Regions from separate parts of the Homo sapiens genome. Here all the other regions are linked to region 1. The links are contacts of gene promoters, found by promoter capture Hi-C in human tissues and cell types (Jung and others, 2019). All regions are on one chromosome and are shown on one strand. Each heading gives the region's core, a stretch centred on a gene start or on the middle of the fragment in contact. The rest is flanking DNA. Distances are from core to core; before and after follow the strand shown. Region 1 holds the start of RAB15 (RAB15, member RAS oncogene family). Region 2 overlaps SPTB (spectrin beta, erythrocytic). Region 3 overlaps SPTB (spectrin beta, erythrocytic). Region 4 overlaps SPTB (spectrin beta, erythrocytic). Region 5 has its middle 28 kb from the start of MAX.

The links. Contacts are between HindIII fragments. The study calls those that stand out against the background at their distance.
Region 2: a contact is called between a fragment that was not itself captured here and the fragment with the promoter of RAB15 in region 1, in 1 of the 25 tissues and cell types used here (spleen).
Region 3: a fragment that was not itself captured here is called in contact with the fragment with the promoter of RAB15 in region 1 in 1 of the 25 tissues and cell types used here (spleen).
Region 4: a contact is called between a fragment that was not itself captured here and the fragment with the promoter of RAB15 in region 1, in 2 of the 25 tissues and cell types used here (spleen and thymus).
Region 5: a contact is called between a fragment that was not itself captured here and the fragment with the promoter of RAB15 in region 1, in 1 of the 25 tissues and cell types used here (spleen).

Annotation. Positions count from the first base shown.
Region 1 is chr14:64,970,802-64,974,046 of GRCh38, forward strand. RAB15 (RAB15, member RAS oncogene family) reads right to left here and starts at 1,535. Exons shown (of 7, transcript NM_001308154.2): 1 at 1,152-1,535. The coding sequence starts at 1,275. The region is part of intron 3 of CHURC1-FNTB (CHURC1-FNTB readthrough); the gene reads left to right. RefSeq lists a silencer at 1,328-1,697. The HindIII fragment of the contact is 7,421 bases long and covers 1-3,245 here.
Region 2 is chr14:64,775,743-64,778,990 of GRCh38, forward strand. The region is part of intron 22 of SPTB (spectrin beta, erythrocytic); the gene reads right to left. Among named protein-coding and RNA genes, the nearest start is that of MIR7855, 8.3 kb to the right of the region's middle. RefSeq lists an enhancer at 1-86. The HindIII fragment of the contact is 3,892 bases long and covers 1-3,248 here.
Region 3 is chr14:64,753,180-64,756,338 of GRCh38, forward strand. SPTB (spectrin beta, erythrocytic) reads right to left here. Exons shown (of 36, transcript NM_001355436.2): 33 at 358-614. Among named protein-coding and RNA genes, the nearest start is that of MIR7855, 31 kb to the right of the region's middle. The HindIII fragment of the contact is 3,233 bases long and covers 1-3,049 here.
Region 4 is chr14:64,793,072-64,796,640 of GRCh38, forward strand. SPTB (spectrin beta, erythrocytic) reads right to left here. Exons shown (of 36, transcript NM_001355436.2): 11 at 3,486-3,569; 12 at 2,266-2,568; 13 at 1,396-1,546; 14 at 1-796. Among named protein-coding and RNA genes, the nearest start is that of MIR7855, 9.2 kb to the left of the region's middle. The HindIII fragment of the contact is 5,542 bases long and covers 1-3,569 here.
Region 5 is chr14:65,128,424-65,131,898 of GRCh38, forward strand. No RefSeq gene overlaps it. Among named protein-coding and RNA genes, the nearest start is that of MAX, 28 kb to the left of the region's middle. The HindIII fragment of the contact is 4,433 bases long and covers 1-3,475 here.

The DNA of each region.
Region 1 (3,245 bases), core at 285-2,784:
CAATAAAGCTGGCTTCTTAACCAGAAGGTTCTGTTCCTCCTGGCTGTATCTATCTGCTCCTACTTCTCTCTCAGCAAGGAATGTGTGTTGGGGGGAGGGGGGATGGTGTGGACATGAATCCTCAAGAGGAAGCTGAGAGCTGGTGCCCATCCCTGATGGCAGCAGGGACTTCTAGGAGAGCATTCCAAATGGATGACCAGCCAGCCAGCAGGTGTTTCCAGGGGCCTGGGCAATGCAGAGGCTACTCCAGGGCTGACCCGGGTAGCAGCTGAGGATGAAATTCCCTCTACTCAGACTTCTCAGGGAGGGGGCCCCTCACAGCCTAGAAGCGGGAGACTGACTGTCTCAGAGGGGAGGCCATGGACCCATTCCTAGAATAAGTGACCCCATCATAGTGCTGTCTGGGATGCCACCGGGTCTTGTCCCTCTAACCACAGGCTCCAGCACTGCCAGATGAGAGATGCCCTCAGGCGGGTCCTGCCTGCCTTCTGACCCCTTGGTCTGGGCAGGTATTCCTGACACTCCTCCATCCTCTTTAGCCTCCCTCAGAACAGATGTCTCCTCTTCCCAGGCGCAGGGGCTCCTCACCCTATCTGTGTCCTCCCCCAGGTGTCCCACCTTGCGGCTTACCTTCCCAACTCTGCCCTGGAAACTCGATCCCTGTGGCCCCTCCGTACGTCCTCTCTTCCCCCCCTCGCCCCCCGCCGGCTCCACCTTGGGTCACCACAGAACCAAGGGCGCCTCAGTGACTCCGGTCTCCACCCTGACCCCCTTTTCCGTAGCAGAAGCTTTACTTCCCCTCCCCCTGGGGGTGTGGGGATGTTATTCCAGCGGCTACGATTCTTGCTACCCCAGCTCGGGGTACCCAGGCCTACACCAGCTCCCCTCACCCCCGGTTTCTCGGTTTGATGGGACGGAAGGCTTCCCGGCAAGAGGCGGGAGACCCCACCCCTGGTCCGGACGGCAGGCAGCAGGGACACCCTCACCTGCCAAAACCTATGCTCACCCCGAGATTTATCCCGGACTCCGGCCTCCGGCGCCACCGCCTCCAGCCGGAGGGGCTGGCAATTCCTCCCCAGCTGGGGACGGGGGCGGCGGGGAAAGGGGCCGCGGGCGGGGAGGGAGGGGCGCCCCGGGCCACCGCCCCTTACCGATGGTGGAGATGTGCGAGGAGTGGAACTCGTTGTCGGTGAAGCGGCACAGCAGGCAGGTCTTGCCCACCCCGGAGTCCCCGATCAGCAGCAGCCGGAACAGCACATCGTACTGCTTCGCCATGACTGGGGCCAGCGGGGCCGGGAACTGCGGGCGGGCAGCGGGCTCAGCCCTGCTCCGCCGCTGCCATCGCGGCCCGCGCCCGCCCGGGGACGCTGCGGGCGGCGAGGAGGACGCCGGGCCCGGCCCCCGCGGCTGCCTCGCCCGCCCGCCTGCCCACTCGCTCGCTGGGTGCCGGGAAGCGCGGCTGCGGCGGGAGCCCGGCGCGGCGCCCGCTCGGCTCGGCTCGGCTCGGCTGGGCTGGCGCGAGGCGGTGGGAGGAGAAACCGGCGGCGGCCCCTGCCCGCCCCTTCCCCTGCGCCGCCGCCGCCGCCCCGGAGAGAGGGGGCGGGGAGCGCGCGCAGGAGAGCGGGACCCCATCGAGCAGGCGACGCTGGGGCGGGGCGCCAGCCCCCCCTCCCAACCCCTTCCTGCCCGGGGCGGGGGAACGTTTTCGTTTTTCCGCGGACGCTCCGAATGGGGGAGTTGAGGTGAGCCCCCACCCAGCCCACTTCTACCGTGCTCCGCTTTCCGGGCTCACCACTTCTCCCCATATCCCACCCCAAGTCTGGCGCCGGTAATTCCGCCCGCCGTGGCACCCTGCATCTGCAGGATCTGGCCGGGCTCCCCAGTGGCTGGTACCTCAGCTGGGCTCACCCGAGGTAGGAAGGCCTTGAGCAGGATCTGGATTCGAACACCCGTCTCCATGAGTCCCCGAGAGTGTGGGTGGAATTCCCCCTCCCTGCCATCTGGCTGCCCCTTACCTGTGTGACTGTGTCACGGCCCTCCCCCGTCCCCATTTTTTCTTTAAATGGGGAAAATGCCTATTCACGGCCTCCACCAGGGTGAAAAGATAGATGGCCATAAGAACATCTCCAAGTGCAAAATCCTTTAGAGGTGTGCGGGCAAGTCTCCGTTTTCCCTCTAAGGTGCTTAGGATAGGTGCCCAGGTGACCAATGTATTGTTTCAGACCCCTAAATTTCTCTGTGGTATAGCCAGTGGCACCAAAGAATGAATGGCCCTTGTTCAAGATCCAGTTTCCTACCACTGAATGTGTTAGCACCGGAGAGAGGCAAATGAATGCTCTCCGGAGTTGAGAAAATTGCCTATCCCTACCAACGAGTATTGAGGGAGAGCAAAGTCTAGCCTATTAGGTCTTTAAAAAGCAATGAAAGGCTAGGCGCGTTGGCTCATGCCTGTAATCCCAGTACTTTGGGAGGCTGAGGCGGGCAGATCACTTTGAGGTCAGGAGCTGGAGACCAGCCTGGCCAATGTAGTGAAACCCAGTCTCTACTAAAAATAAAAAAAAATTAGCTGGGCACGGTGGCTCGCCTGTAATCCCAGGCTTGAGAGGCTGAGGTGGGAGGATTGCTTGAACCCATTAGGGGAAGGCTGCAGTGAGCCGAGATCATGACACTGCACTCCAGCCTGCGCAACAGAGGGAGACCTTGTCTCAAAAAAAAAAAAAAAAAAGCAATGAAAAGTATATATGTACATACCTGTTTTCAGGCTGAATATTGGATGGAGAATGTATTTTTCAATAGTAGGTCAAGGAAAGTGGTAAGCCCATTTACTTCATTTGAAAAGGTATATTTCAGGTTAAGTGTCTGAATTATAATAAGAGGGGAAAAGTTCAAGACCAGCCTGGCCAACATGGTGAAACCCCATCTCTACTAAAAATATAAAAAAATTAGCTGGGCGTGGTGGCCGGTGCCTGTAATCCCAGCTACTCGGGAGGCTGAGGCAGGAGAATTGCTTGAACCTGAGAGGCGAAGGTTGCGGTGAGCCGAGATTGCGCCATTGCACTCCAGCCTGGGCAACAAGAGCAAAACTCTGTCTCAAAAAAAAAAAAAAAAAAAAGCCGGGGGGCGAAATCCCGAGCCTGCTAGCTACTCTGATTACACAGAAAGCTAAAGGAACTGATGTAGTGGATTCCATTATTTCGAGGTGCGCGTCTCCACAGTGGGCTTACATGGGGTTTCAGGTGCATGCC
Region 2 (3,248 bases), core at 262-2,761, 200 kb before region 1:
GCTTGATTCCTTAGGTGTATGTGTTGGAAGGAAAAGAAAAATGGCCTTTTTGATACCTTATTCTAACAGCTTTTGCAGGATTTATGCAGGATCATTTACGCAGGATACGCCCAACCCAGCAGCTCAGGTGGGCACAGTTTTTGCCTTCCATCTAAAAGAACAGGTGACAGCAGCCCCTTGCTTACAGTCTCAGCTTTTGTTTTTCCCTACTTCTATTTCTCATATTTTTGTGAGCTTTGCATTAGTCCCTGTTTGAGCCTTTGGTCATGAACACAGCCTCTTCCTCCCACCCTGGTGGCTGGTCACCTTTTTCTTCAGGAGGCCCTGACACGTGTTACTTGTTTTCTGGGTCCTAAAGACTGGGCTAGCTGCTGCTGGTGTGTGGGCTCCTGAGCTCCATATACCTCACTACCTGTTTCTTCCCTCTCTATATAATTTTCCTGTGGCCTTTAAAATTGGAAGGCAGGGGCAAGAGCAGCCCACATGAGCAGCACAGTGATGGCCAGCATTTAAAATATGCACAAAATAACCACATCTACAAGTCACATAACCTGCTGAAATGCATTTTTACACTTTATGCTCAGAACCTCAATTTTTACAATTTCCTATAGTCTCTGCAGTTGCATTCAAACAACCCATGTTTTCAGCTCCATTTGCTTGTTTACTCTGAGATCTTATGACCTCTGCATGGTGCCCTAAAAATTAATTTCTTTTTTTTAAGATAGGGTCTCACTCTAGTCACCCAGGCTGGAGTGCAGTGGCACAATCAGCTCACTGAGCCTCAACTTCCCAGGCTCAGATGATTCTCCCACCTCAGCCTCCCAAGTAGCTTGGACTACAGGTATGTACCACCACATCTGGCTAATTTTTTGTATTTTTTGTAGAGATGGGCTTTTGCCATGTTGCCCAGGCTGGTCTCAAACTCCTGGGCTCAGGCGATCCACCCGCTTCGGCCTCCCAAAGTGCTGGGATTACGGGTGTGAACCACTGCGCCCGGCCTAAAAGGGTATTTCTTCCTTTTTAACCAATTACTTTCTAGTATCTGTGCAGGGTACTTACATTTAAAGTCTTCTTCCCTGTCTTCATTCATTCAACAACTATGTATTAAGTTCTTTTCTATGTACCAGACCCTGGTCTAGGTAATAGGGACAATATAGAAACAAGAGAAATGAAAATCCCTGCACTTTAAAGCTTACAACCTGGTAGAGGAAATAGAAGGTAAACATGCAAATAAATGAATAAACAAAGGCTGGGCCTTCCTCCCTGGGGGCTACGAGGAAAAGACAACAGTGGGATGGAGAATGTCTGCTGCGATGTGGCAGGAGCCACTTTAGCTAAGGGAGTCAGGGAGGGCCTCTCTGAGGATACGAAACTTGACCATGACATGAATGACGGGAGGGAGGCAACCACACAGAGATCTGGGGTTGAGTGTTCCTGGCAAGAGGACTGAACAAGTGCAAAGGCTCTGGGGTGGACATGAGCTGGGACCGTCTGAGGCCACAGAGAGGGCCAGAAGAGCTGGAATACTGTGAAGGAGGGCAAAGTGAGAAGAGCTGAGTTTCAGAAGCAGGCAGGGGTCAGGTCAGGCAAGAGTGGTTCTTAATCCTGATTGCCCACTGAATAATCCAGGGAAACAGATGCAGCTAGGGGCCTACCCCCAGAGATCCTAATTGATCTGAGGTGAGACCTGGGCATTCATCTGTCTAAAAGTTCCCTAGGTGATGTGAGTGTACAGCCAGGGGTGAGAGCCCTTCATGTACTACCTTGTGGAATTTGTTCTAATTGCAATGAATAGCCCTGGGAACAGTGGTCCCCAAAGTGCAGTCCTGAACCAGCAGCATCGGCATCACCTAGGATCTTGTTGGAAATGCAAATTATTAGGCTCTACCCCCAGAGCTTGATGCAGTAGGGATCTGGGGGTGGCACCTGGTTAAGTCGTGTAAACTCACCCAGAAGGCTTGTTAAAGGAGTTGCATATTGGAGTTTGACAACCATTGCAACAGAGGGTTTTAGGTGAGGAAATGATAAAATTGGATTTATGGTTTAGCCAGGTGAGCCTAAAATAGTCTTCATTAGGGCAGTCACGCTGTCCCAAGAGGCTGCCTTTCCCTTCTTGGTTAGGGGAACCCCATCCGTATTTGTCTTGCCCTTTTCCCGAAATAGCAACTGCCAGCCAGGGGAGTTAAAAACCTTTGAACAATAACACTTACAGAGGCTGCATAGAATCAAAAATCCTAGTGTTGGAAAGACTAGAGTTGGCTCATTTTACAATTAAGGAAACTGAGGTCCCAAGGATACCATGTCCTACCAGCCTTCCACCTTTAGCTGAAGGTTGTGGCATTAACTGAGGCTAGATTTCTATCATCTTCTAGCCCAGGTCCCTGCGTGTGGCTGCTGGAGCCTCTGCGACTAGATCATGTCAACCAGAAGCAAAGGGCCTAAGGCAGCTTTGAAGAAACTTCTCTGAATATAATCTAGGCCTCTGCACTGCTGCTGGGCTCACATGGTCCTGTGAGCAGATGTCAGCTGCTGCCAAGCTGGGGGAAGGGAGTGCTGTCTGCCATGACCTTCCTTCCTCAAGGAGCTGCAATACTAACCGGGCACTCTGGGACATGTCACTTTTATCTGGGATCTAAGTTCCTGGGCTCTCCTTGCTGACCCAGAGAGCATGCAGAGGGAGGGTCTCTCTGTCCAAGAAGGGTCTGTGGCCATTCCCCTGGCCGCTGCGACCCCACACAGCCAGCTTCCTTACATGATTCAGGCTCCCACTGCAGCCCTGACCCAAGAGGGAGTGCTTGGCATCTGCTCACATCCAGGATCCTGACCAGGGCCACAGGAGTTCCCAATCAGGGCTAAGCGAGTGCCAAAAAGCAGAGGGATGTTTGCTCCAAGGGCTCAGAGTCCAAAGTTAGTGGCTTCCTAATGGAATTTGAGCCCCACAAGTATCCTCATATGTCGAGAGAAATGGGGCCTACTTACCCCAAGGACACCACACATGCCAAGCTCAGCCCTGGAAGAGGGGCAAGGCAGTGTTGTGGGAGAGAGATCAGGAGTTACTGCCCTCCTCTCAGGCAGACCACTGGATACACCGAATACACAGCTACTGAAGCACATCAACCTCCAGGCCAGGCCCCCGAGATCCTGCATTCACCTGTGCCTGATGGAGGCTGAATGGCCCTGAATCCCCAACTACCTCCCCTCCTCTGTGATCCTCCCAGAATTTGCTCTGTAATCACAAAAACCTGCTC
Region 3 (3,159 bases), core at 183-2,682, 220 kb before region 1:
TAGGATAATAACAGCTAGTGTTCACCAAGTGCCTACTGTGTGCCAGGAACAGTATCTGTAGTGAAAAGACATACTGTTCTCATCCTCTCCTTCCAAATGGGGAAACCGATTTAAAGAGGTTGAGTAACTTGCATGAAGACACAGGATTTGAATTCAGGACCAGAACTGGAGATAGGCTTTCCCATCATGCCAAGTAGCCCTCGGGGCTGGCCCAGAGGGGTGTCTAGGAGCTCTCACAGGCCAAGGCAGAAGGCACCCCTCCCCCAGCACATGCCCATGTCACCAAGGCTCTGCTAGCAGAGAGATCCCTGAGAGCTGCCCAACCTACCCTCAGCCAGCAGCCTCTCCCGCACTCACCTGTTGGAAGCCTTCTTGTTGGGCCCCTCCAGGTCATGCTTGCGGCCCAGGTAGCCTTCCATCTGCACACTCTGCCCATGGTCCCGCGGGGCCGGCAGCGTTGCGGGCTCATCACCCTCGCTCAGAGGCGTATCTAGGACCTTAAAGAGGGGCTCCGTGGTGGGCCTCTCATCCCCAGTGGATTTCTGCCCATCCTTGTGCTGACCCGGCGGTGGTGGCTGCTGCAGGTTCTGAGGCCACGTTCCCTCTTCTTCCCCCTGCTCAGGGCATAGGGAGGAGCACACCTTTCTGGGTACTCTGGCTTAGAGATGGCTGTTCTCAGCAAAATTGGGAGGTCAGCAGCCACCCTCTCCACACCCCCAAGCCTACTTCCTTTCTACTCCCACCTCCTGGCCCACCCTGGCTCTCCCACAACCTGCTATGGGTGCCCCCTTGCTTCTCTACTCTGCCTGTGCTTCTGGCTCCATTTCCACCCCATTCTCCCTTCAGAGAGCTGCAGGGTGGCCCCCTCTCTCCAATGTAACATAGCAACGGAAGGTTCTCAGAGTGAGCCAAAGGGGCCTGAGTGATTATTTCATTAAAGGGGTGTGAGGGGGGGCAGGTTCCAATGCTGCTGGCAAAGCTCTGGCCCCTCCCCTTGCTGCAGCCAGACACTCGTATGAGGAAAGTTCTGCTGCTAAGACAAGTTCGGCAACCACTTATAGTAGAATGTTGAATGGGAACTCTTCTGGTACTTTCAAATTGTGCCTAAAGCCCTAAAACTAAGGGTACCAGGTCCTAAGTCTGCCCGCCCCTGCCACCTTACAAAGGGAGAACCCAGACCCTCCCTGGCCATCAGCAGGTCTAACAGGTCCTTTCTCCATCATTTGATGGGAACTTTTTGGACAGGGCAGTGGTTCCTAACCCTGGCTGCCTTCCGCAATCACCTCAGGTGCTTTCAAAAGAAACATTCTCAGGCTCCATCTCAAGATGCTGAGTTAACTGGCCCCGGGGGTCGGCACATTGGTATCTCTTACTGAGCATTTCATGGGATCTAATGTTCAGCAGGAGTTGAGAATCCCCCTCGTAAGGAGGCACAGCCTTGGGGAACTGCTGTGGTCTTTACCTCCCTGCACCTCCCTGTGGAGACCTGGGGATGCCTGGCCCCTGCCCAAGTCAAGGGAGGGGCCTCCAATGGTGCCACTCACTGTATGACATACAGGTGCCCACGAGAAGGGGAAGCTGACCTGCCATTCCCTGGCTGGGCATCTCCTTATGCTAGACCTTGCTGATCTGCCCTTTTGCCTGTTGGGGCAGAAGAAAGAGAGGGCAGGACAGATTGGGGCAGCAGCGGGCGGCCTCCCATTGCCAGGTGGGGCAAGAATGGGTGGGTCTCCTCCGTGCCAAGTGAGCACCAAGGAAGGCAGCCTCACTGGAGCCATCTGGCCAGGACCCGGTCCCAAAGACCTGACTGCTAAACACCTTTCAGCAAGAGGTAGGAAGGCCCCCAAGCAGCTGGATGCCTGAAGCACCAAGGACATCTTCAGCCAGGAGGTCAGAAAAGGTTCTTTTTCTGCTCCCTCCTCCCTGCCCCAACAGCTGAAGACAGAGGTCCAGAAGAGTGCTGGGGAGGAGAGGGAAGGAGCCAGGAGAGAGCAGACCATGTTCTCCTCCCTGGTCTGAATCCTTTAGACTATGGGGCAAACCCGAAACAGAGGATGGAGGATGGGAGGATGTGGGCCCCATGTTGGACATCAGATCGAAGCTTTAAACTGAAACAACTGGGCAGACTTTTTATCCACTGAAAGTGACCAGGGTCTGCCTGAGGTGGCCTTAGGAATGGGAAGGGGGGCTCAATGGAGACGTTGGAAGGCAGTGGTTGCAAGAAAGATAAAACTGGTCATGTTTGTATCTCATCAAATTAGGACTGTTCAGTAAACAGGTTACATGGTAGGGATCCAGTAAGATTTCATTTAAAGAAAGGGTTATGTGGCTGGGAAAGTTTGGAAACCACTGACTTAGTCTAATGCTTTCGATCTATAATGAGAAAACCAGTGCTCAGAGAGGTCAAGTGACTTGCCCAAGGTTATACTGTCGGAGTAGGCAGATAAATATGAGCAGGTGGGAAAGCCTCTGAGAAAGGGAGGTCTGGAAAGTCTCACACCCCAGAGACCATCCAAAACATTCACCCTAGATATGAGCAGAGAGGAGGGGAAATATCTATGCAGGAAGGAACACCCCAAGACACCCCTTAAGATGCCCAGTCATCACTCTGCAGTTAACCTGTGGGAATGTAGCCAGCTGCATGCTAAGGAGGGAAAGAAAGCAAAGGAGAAATTCCTACGAGATATGCACGTGCAATAAATACCAATATACACCCTTCCTGGAGTGGCAGTAATTAGCAACATCACCATTCGATAGGATTCATATCCGACACCCGCCCCTGCAGGTTCATCAGCTGACAGTAAGGGAGAGTCCCACAAACCTGGGGCGGGAACTAGGTGGGGCGAAAAGATGGAGACATAAGATAGAGGCAGGAAATTAGACAAAGGTGGAGACTTGAGACAGAGGCAGGAACCTAAATAGAGTGTGACCTAATAAAAACCGCAAGGCAGAACTCTCTAGTTGCTGGCTCATCTTTCGAGCAGCCTGCTCTGCCTCATCTTTCAGAGTGTATTGTCTCTGCTGCTACCTCACTCTTGCTGTGAATACTGCTGCTTCCCAGGCGGACCTGCTGGCTCCTCTCTTGGAGTCTACTTCAATAAACTCCCAGGCCGGGCATGGTAGCTCACGCCTGTAATCCCAACACTTTGGGAGGCCGAG
Region 4 (3,569 bases), core at 1,070-3,569, 180 kb before region 1:
ATCCACAGCTCACAGGCGTCTGTCTCCCCGAACACCGTGTACAGGTCCAGGGCTTCCTGCAGCCTCTGCTGACGCAGGTCCGCCTGGGCCACCACCTGTTGGTAGAGCTCCCGCAGGGCCTGCAGCCGATGGGTCACATCTGGGGAATCCCGAAACTCTTCGGGGAATCCCTGGGCCTGCTGCTCCAGGTGCTCCATCACCCCACGGCTCTCCTCCAGCTCCTCCAGGAAGTCCTTGTGCTTTTTCCCCAGGGCCCGCGTGGCCCCTTCGTCCTGCCCCACATCTTCACCAGAGAGCAGCCGGTGGGCGTCTTGCAGCCAAGCCTTCAGGTCATCCGCATCGCCCTGGAACTGGAAAAAGTTCTCAGCATCCTGGAGGTTCTTCTTGCAGAAGGCAGCCAGGTCCTTCAGCTGGTCCCACTGTGCCGACACCTCCTTTATGCGGGCCTCGATCTGCGGGTGCCCAAACTGCTTGCGCGCAACCATGCCATGAGCCTCCTGGAAGATCTGCTCCAGGTGAGCATCCAGCCCACGGAGCTCATCCTCAAAGGCCTTGTGCTTGCGCTGTAAGATGAGCACACTGGTCAGGTCTTTGCCATAGTCCAGGGAAGAATAGATCTGCTCCTTCTCCTTGATCCAGCTCTCAGCCTCATCCATCTCCCAGAAGAACTTCCAGAGTCGTTTGGACTGCTCCAGTTGGGCCTTCCGCCCAGCTGCCATGTTGCTCAGCTCCTCAAAGCACTGCTCCAAGTGGCTGATGCGGTCCTGGATGACCTGGGGGTCACAAGGCTGGTACCCTGGAAGAAATAGGGGGAAGGAGGACAAAGTGGGGGATGGGCTTCATTTATGGGCACGCTTCAGATAAGCTGCTAGGTTGGAACTACACAACCCTGAAGCTGCCATGTCACTGGGGCTTTGGGGTTGGATGCAGGGGGGTCCCAGTTGCTCAGAGGGTGGACAGATTCTTTATAATTATTTCCCACTGAACTTCAGGGTTAAGGAAGATAAAAAGTGGGGTTAGTTCTTAATAGAAATGTACAACATAAAATTATTTTTAAATTAATTAAAAAAATTTCAAGGTCATTCTTGAAAGATGCAGTGAGGTCTCTTATTTAAAACAAGAATCTGGAAACCTAAATTGTCTCAGCCATAACTTGAACTAGCAAGGAGAATGAAGGACAGAGGGTGCCTCCTTGGTGATTATAGGTTACCGAAGCAGTTGCCTGCTCTCTAGAGAATTTGGCTGGTCCCTCAAGCTTCTTTCTTGGACCATTACTTGATGAAAGTAACAGAACTTTAAAGTTGGTTCCAGGAGATTTATCCAAGTTGGGTTGTTAGGCCAGAGGTGAGGCTCTGGCATTGGAAGCCTCAAAAGGGGAGACAGACTTGGTCTCACCTTTCCCCTCGGTGAACTTCAGGGTGGCTGCGGTGATGGCCTTCACTTTGTCCCCTTGGATGGCGATGTCAGCTTCCATCAACTTGTGCTTCTGTAGCAGGTCTTCAACCTCCAACAAGTGCTTCCCAAACTCGGCAGACAAGAGGTGAGCCTGGCAAAGAGAACAGCAGAAAGGAAATGAGGAGAAGTGAAGAGACCTACACATTAGGAGAAGAGACCCCTGCAAAGGGCATGTCTCTAGTAATCTGAGCAAGGGTGAGCCAAATGCAGCCAGAAAAGGGCTGCTGCTGAGGATGGAAGAAGCTCCAGAGGGAGAGTGCCTACTGGGGGTGCCCATCAGCATCATCCATAGAACATCTTACAGATGCTCAAGCCCCACACTCATCTACTGCATCGGTCTCAGGGTTGGGGCCTGGCCATGTGTATTTTCACAAAGCTCCAGGGGCAGTCTGATGTGTGTCCTCAGCTGAGACCCACTGCGGCAGAGAGAGAGGAGAGGTTGCCCTCATGCTGGGAGGTCTGGATTCTAACCAGAGTCAAATTGTAATTACTAAGAGCTTGATTCTCCAGGTTCCTGATTAATGTCTGTCTCTTCAAGGCCCTGAAGGTTGGCACCGGTGCTGCCACAAACCCAAGATTTCTCGGTCACCAGGGTACCATGGACCTGGGCTGGTATCACCTGCTGGAGCAGAGTGGACCAAGAGGCAGAGAGGCAGGTGCAGCTAGACACTTTGCTGCCTCAGTTTCTCTATTTTGACTCAGAGATATGACTGGCTGGGAGGTGTCTAAGGAAGCCTATGCTAACTGCAGGGCCACTGAGACCCAAGGTGAGCACTGCAGGGCATGGCGGGGGCGGCCCCCAGGGCCCACCTTGATCTCATCCATCCAGTCGATGCTGTGCAGCATGTCCTGGAAGAGCTTCTGCAGTGCCAGGGTGGTCTCGAGCCTCTGGCGCCGGGACTGCAGCAGCTCCTGCAGGTAGCTCCATAGGCGCAGTATATTGTCCTTGCGGGCCGTGATGCGCTTCTGGTCATGGTAGTTCTCTTTCTCCAGCTCCTGAGCCAGGTCCTCCAGGGCTCTCACCCGCTCCTCGTAGGCAGCCGTGTCGGTCTCGATGGCCTCATGCTTCTTCTTGGCGGCCTCCACAGCTGCCAGGTCATACCCAAAGTTATCCTGCCCCACCGGGAGAAAAACAGGCAGCTCAGTCAGACACCCAGGGGCTCATCCCCAAACTCAGGGACAGGGCAGCTCCCTTCAGAACCAGTGCTAGATGGGAAAGCACATTCCCAAGAAGCAGCTAGTTCTGCCTTACTTTTGCAGCCTGTCTTATCAGACCCAAGTTCCAAAAATTAATGTCTCACAAGAGACTCTAAGAGAAGTTCATGATTTTACTCCCCGTGCCACCCGCGTGGGAGATGCAGCCTGCGTGTTACTAATGGAGCCCCTTGGCAGCCTGCTGGCACTCCCCACATGCCTCGAGTGGACCTGTTGGATTTGGGGCAGGAAGGGGCTGCTTCTCACTCGGAAACCCATGCACCAGCAAACAGATGGTTTATTCACATGCTATCTGGGGTGCGCATACACTCTCCAGTGCTCTCAGAATACTTGTTGCCCCCTTTCTGGACAGAATCTAATTTGATTCCAAGCTTTAAGTGAGAGGGAACAGATGCTCTGATGAAGAATCAGCCCTGGGGTCAATTCTTAGCTAGAATTATGTCACAGCACCAGAGACCAGAGTCCAAAAGGCATGCCTGACACAGACAAGGTGCAGTCTGTGATTTTACCATATCCCCCAAGAACCACAATTTAACATCAACTGAAACCCCAGCTGTAGTTGACACTACAGGCCCACATAAGACAACTTCAGCGGCCAGTTCTAGACTCCAAGGCTCTTTCCTAAAAATGAGATTTAATAAATCCTGGAGAGCTCCTCCCCAGATGCAAATCTTGATCCACTGGATCACGGGGGAGCTGTGCTGCAAGGCACGAGGAGAGGCTGTGAGAAGCCAGCTTGGACTCCAGCCCAGCCAAGAGCTGGGGGCTCTGAAGAATGTCCCCTCTCCTGTCACCCAAAGCATGTCCCTCATTACCTGGGCCACGAGGCGCTGGTTTTCACTGAGCCAGGTCTCTCTCATTGCGGCCTTCCGGTCAAAGCGCCGGGCCAGTTGCTCTAG
Region 5 (3,475 bases), core at 83-2,582, 160 kb after region 1:
GATGTATTCCAAACTGTTAAGGGATGTTATCTCTTTGGGATGGGATTTTTGAATTTTCTTTTCTGTACTGTTTGGAGTTTTGTTGTTGTTGTTATTTTTACAGTGATACATTTTAAAAAAACAATAAAGAGATTTTACTTTTGAAAAACTGCTTAACATAAATGAAATGGCAGAGACTTACAAAGGAGATAGAAGCTATTCACCTTCAAAGAACTTCAACTCTAATCAGACAAGGTAAAAATTATTTATATATATTATAGAATACTTGTAAAAACAACATGGAGGAAATACAAAAATCAAGGCAAGCTGCAGCTATAAGGAAGACTTCGCATTTGAGGAAATGAGAAGAAAGATGGATACTGGAGGATGTGGGGAGACTGAGAGCAAAGGGGGCACAACTGGAGAGGTCTTGGCTGTGAGATGACTTTTGAAGAAGGGAGGGTCCCGGGAGGCAGGAAGAAGGCTGTCTTCACAGAATGGGGGAGTGGGCTCTTGGTTCTGAGTTTTGAGCTATGTGGGAGGCTACAGCAAGATGCTCTGCTGGCAGGACAGGCTGTTTCTCCCTGGGTTTTTGTCTGTCCCTTAACTTCTTCTTTTTCTTTTTTTTTTTTTTTTGAGACAGAGTCTCACTCTGTCATCCAGGCTGGAGTGCAGTTGCGCATCTCAGCTCACTGCAACCTCTGCCTCATGGGTTCAAGAGATTCTCCCTCCTTGGCCTCCCAGGTAGCTTGGATTACAGGCACCCGCCATCATGCCCGGCTAATTTTTGTATTTTTGTAGAGATGAGGTTTCACTATGTTGGCCTGGCTGGTCTTAAACTCCTAATCTCAGGTGATCCACCCGCCTCGGCCTCCCAGGGTGCTGGGATTTACAGGTGTGAGCCACTGCGCCCGGCCTGTCCTTTAGCTTCTCTCATTTTTCACTCCTCCTTTCTCTACTGCTCAGGGACCTAGGGATAAAATGTGGCCCTGTTCACTCCAAAGAAAGCATAGGCCGGCCGGGCCTAATAAAAATACAAAAATCAGCCAGGCATGGTGGTGGACTCCTGTAATCTCAAATACTTGGGAGGCTGAGACAGGAGAATTGCTTGAACCTGGGAGGCAGAGGTTGTGGTGAGCCCAGATCACACCATTGCACTCCAACCTGGGTGACGAGCAAAATTGTGTCTCAAAATATAAAAAAAGGCATAGGCTAAACTCCCTTAATAGAGCCAAAAAAGTTGATATAAACAAAAGACATTTTATAAAAAATGAAGGAAATATCTAAAGAAAATAACACCTCCGAATGTAGCAACATAAACACAATTAGGTTTCTTATCCTAAGAAATTCTGTGAAAATATCTGAGATCAGTACATGGCTCTCAGATTCCCTGCTCTTGAAATGCATTCATTTTGCCCGGCGCGGTGGCTCATGCCTGTAATCCCAGCACTTTGGAAGGCTGAGGCAGGTGGATCACGAGGTCAGGAGTTTGAGACCAGCCTGGCCAACAGAGTGAAACCCCGTCTCTACTAAAAATACAAAAATTAGCCCAGCGTGGTGGCACGTGCCTGTAGTCCCAGCTACTCGGGAGGTTGAGGCAGGAGAATTGCTTGAACCCGGGAGGCGGAGGTTGTGGTGAGGCGAGATTGCGCCACTGCACTCCAGCCTGGGCAACAGAGTGAGACTCTGTCTCAAAAAAAAGAAATGCATTCATGTCAACTCTTCAAAGCCCAGCTTTGCAGGCATCTGGGCTTCTTATGCTCCCGGCTCCTGTGCCTGCCTCTCAGCGATGTGGCCTCTGGGTGTAATATTGCTTCCTAGTCCAGGGAACCTGGTCCAACAGACACATCTCATTCCACGTAAGGCCAAACTCCAGCTCCACTAAAACTCAACCTTCTGGAACTTCTAGAAGCCTGTCTTTCTCATCTAGTACAGTTAGTATAAGAGTATACCTAGTCCACAGCTGAGCTGTGAGCTGTATGTGTCCATACAGATGGATATCTTTAAGCCAGTGGTCCCCAACCTTTTTGGCACTGGGGACCAGTTTTTTGGAAGACAATTTTTCCATGGACAGTGGGGGTAGGGGTGAGGGTGCAGGGGTGTATTAGTCCATTTTCACACTGCTATAAAGAACTACCTGAAACTGGGTAATTTATGAAGAAAAGATGTGTAATTGACTCAGAGTTTCATACACTTAACATGAAGCACGATTGGAAGGCCTTGAGAAACTTACAATAATGGCCAATGGTAAAGGGTAGGCAAAGCATGTCTTAGAGGGCAGCAGGAGGGAGCGAGACAGCAAGAGGGGAAGTGCCCCACACTTTAAAACCATCAGATTTCTGCCAGGCATGGTGGCTCACACCTGTAATCCCAGCACTTTGGGAGGCCGAGGAGGGCAGATCACAAGGTCAGGAGTTTGAGACCAGCCTGGCCAACATGGTGAAACCCCTTCTCTATTAAAAATACAAAAATTATTCGGGTGTGGTGGCACGCGCCTGTAGTCCCAGCTACTCGGGAGGCTGAGGCAGGGGAATCGCTTTCACCTGGGAGGCAGAGGTTGTGGTGAGCCGAGATCACACCACTGCACTCCAGCCTGGGCAACAGAGTGAGATTCCATCTCAAAAACAAACAAACAAAAATCAGATTTCATCAGAATTCACTCACTCACTGTCAAGAGAAGAGCATGGGGGAAACCACCCCCATTATCCAATCACCTCCCACTAGGTCCCTCCCTCGACATGTGGGGATTACAATTGGAGGTGATATTTGGGAGGGGACACAGAACCAAACCGTATGGGTGTGGGGTAGGGGATGGTTTTAGGATGTAACTGTTCCACCTCATATCATCAGGCAGGTCACAATAGGGTTCGCGCTCCTATGAGAATCTAATGCCGCAGCTGATCTGACAGGAGGCAGAGCTCAGGCAGTAATGCTCGCCTGCTGCTCTATGGCCCGGTTCCTAACAGGCCACAGACCCTCACCAGTCCACGGCTTGGGGATTGGAGACCCCTGCTTTAAGCCCTTGCCACTCAGGTCTTTGGCTCCACCCACTTCAGAATCATTCTGTGATGATTCACTCACATGAGGTCCCTACACACAAGGAAGGCAGGGTCTTGTAAAAATCTGCCTGTTATAGTTTCATGACACGATAATAACCACATCATAAACATACCATTCACAGAGTATGAGTTAATACATTTATGGTATGAGGAAGTTCATTCTTATTTACCACGCGAGGTGGTAAAATCTCGCCTGGAGGACACATGTTGGCTAGGCCTGGGAGTAACTTTGCAAGCAGGTGAAAGCTTGAGATACTTTCAGGCTATTCTATCAATTAGGTGGTTTAAGATTTAAAAAATAATTGTATGAATTTGACCTCAATAAATTATTTTTAGAAAACAATTGCCTCCATCTCCAACTCAGCATGAAACTGTTTTACTCATCCGTAAAGCCCACTTGATGAATAAGTAAACTCCTTTGGTTAAAATAATTAGTG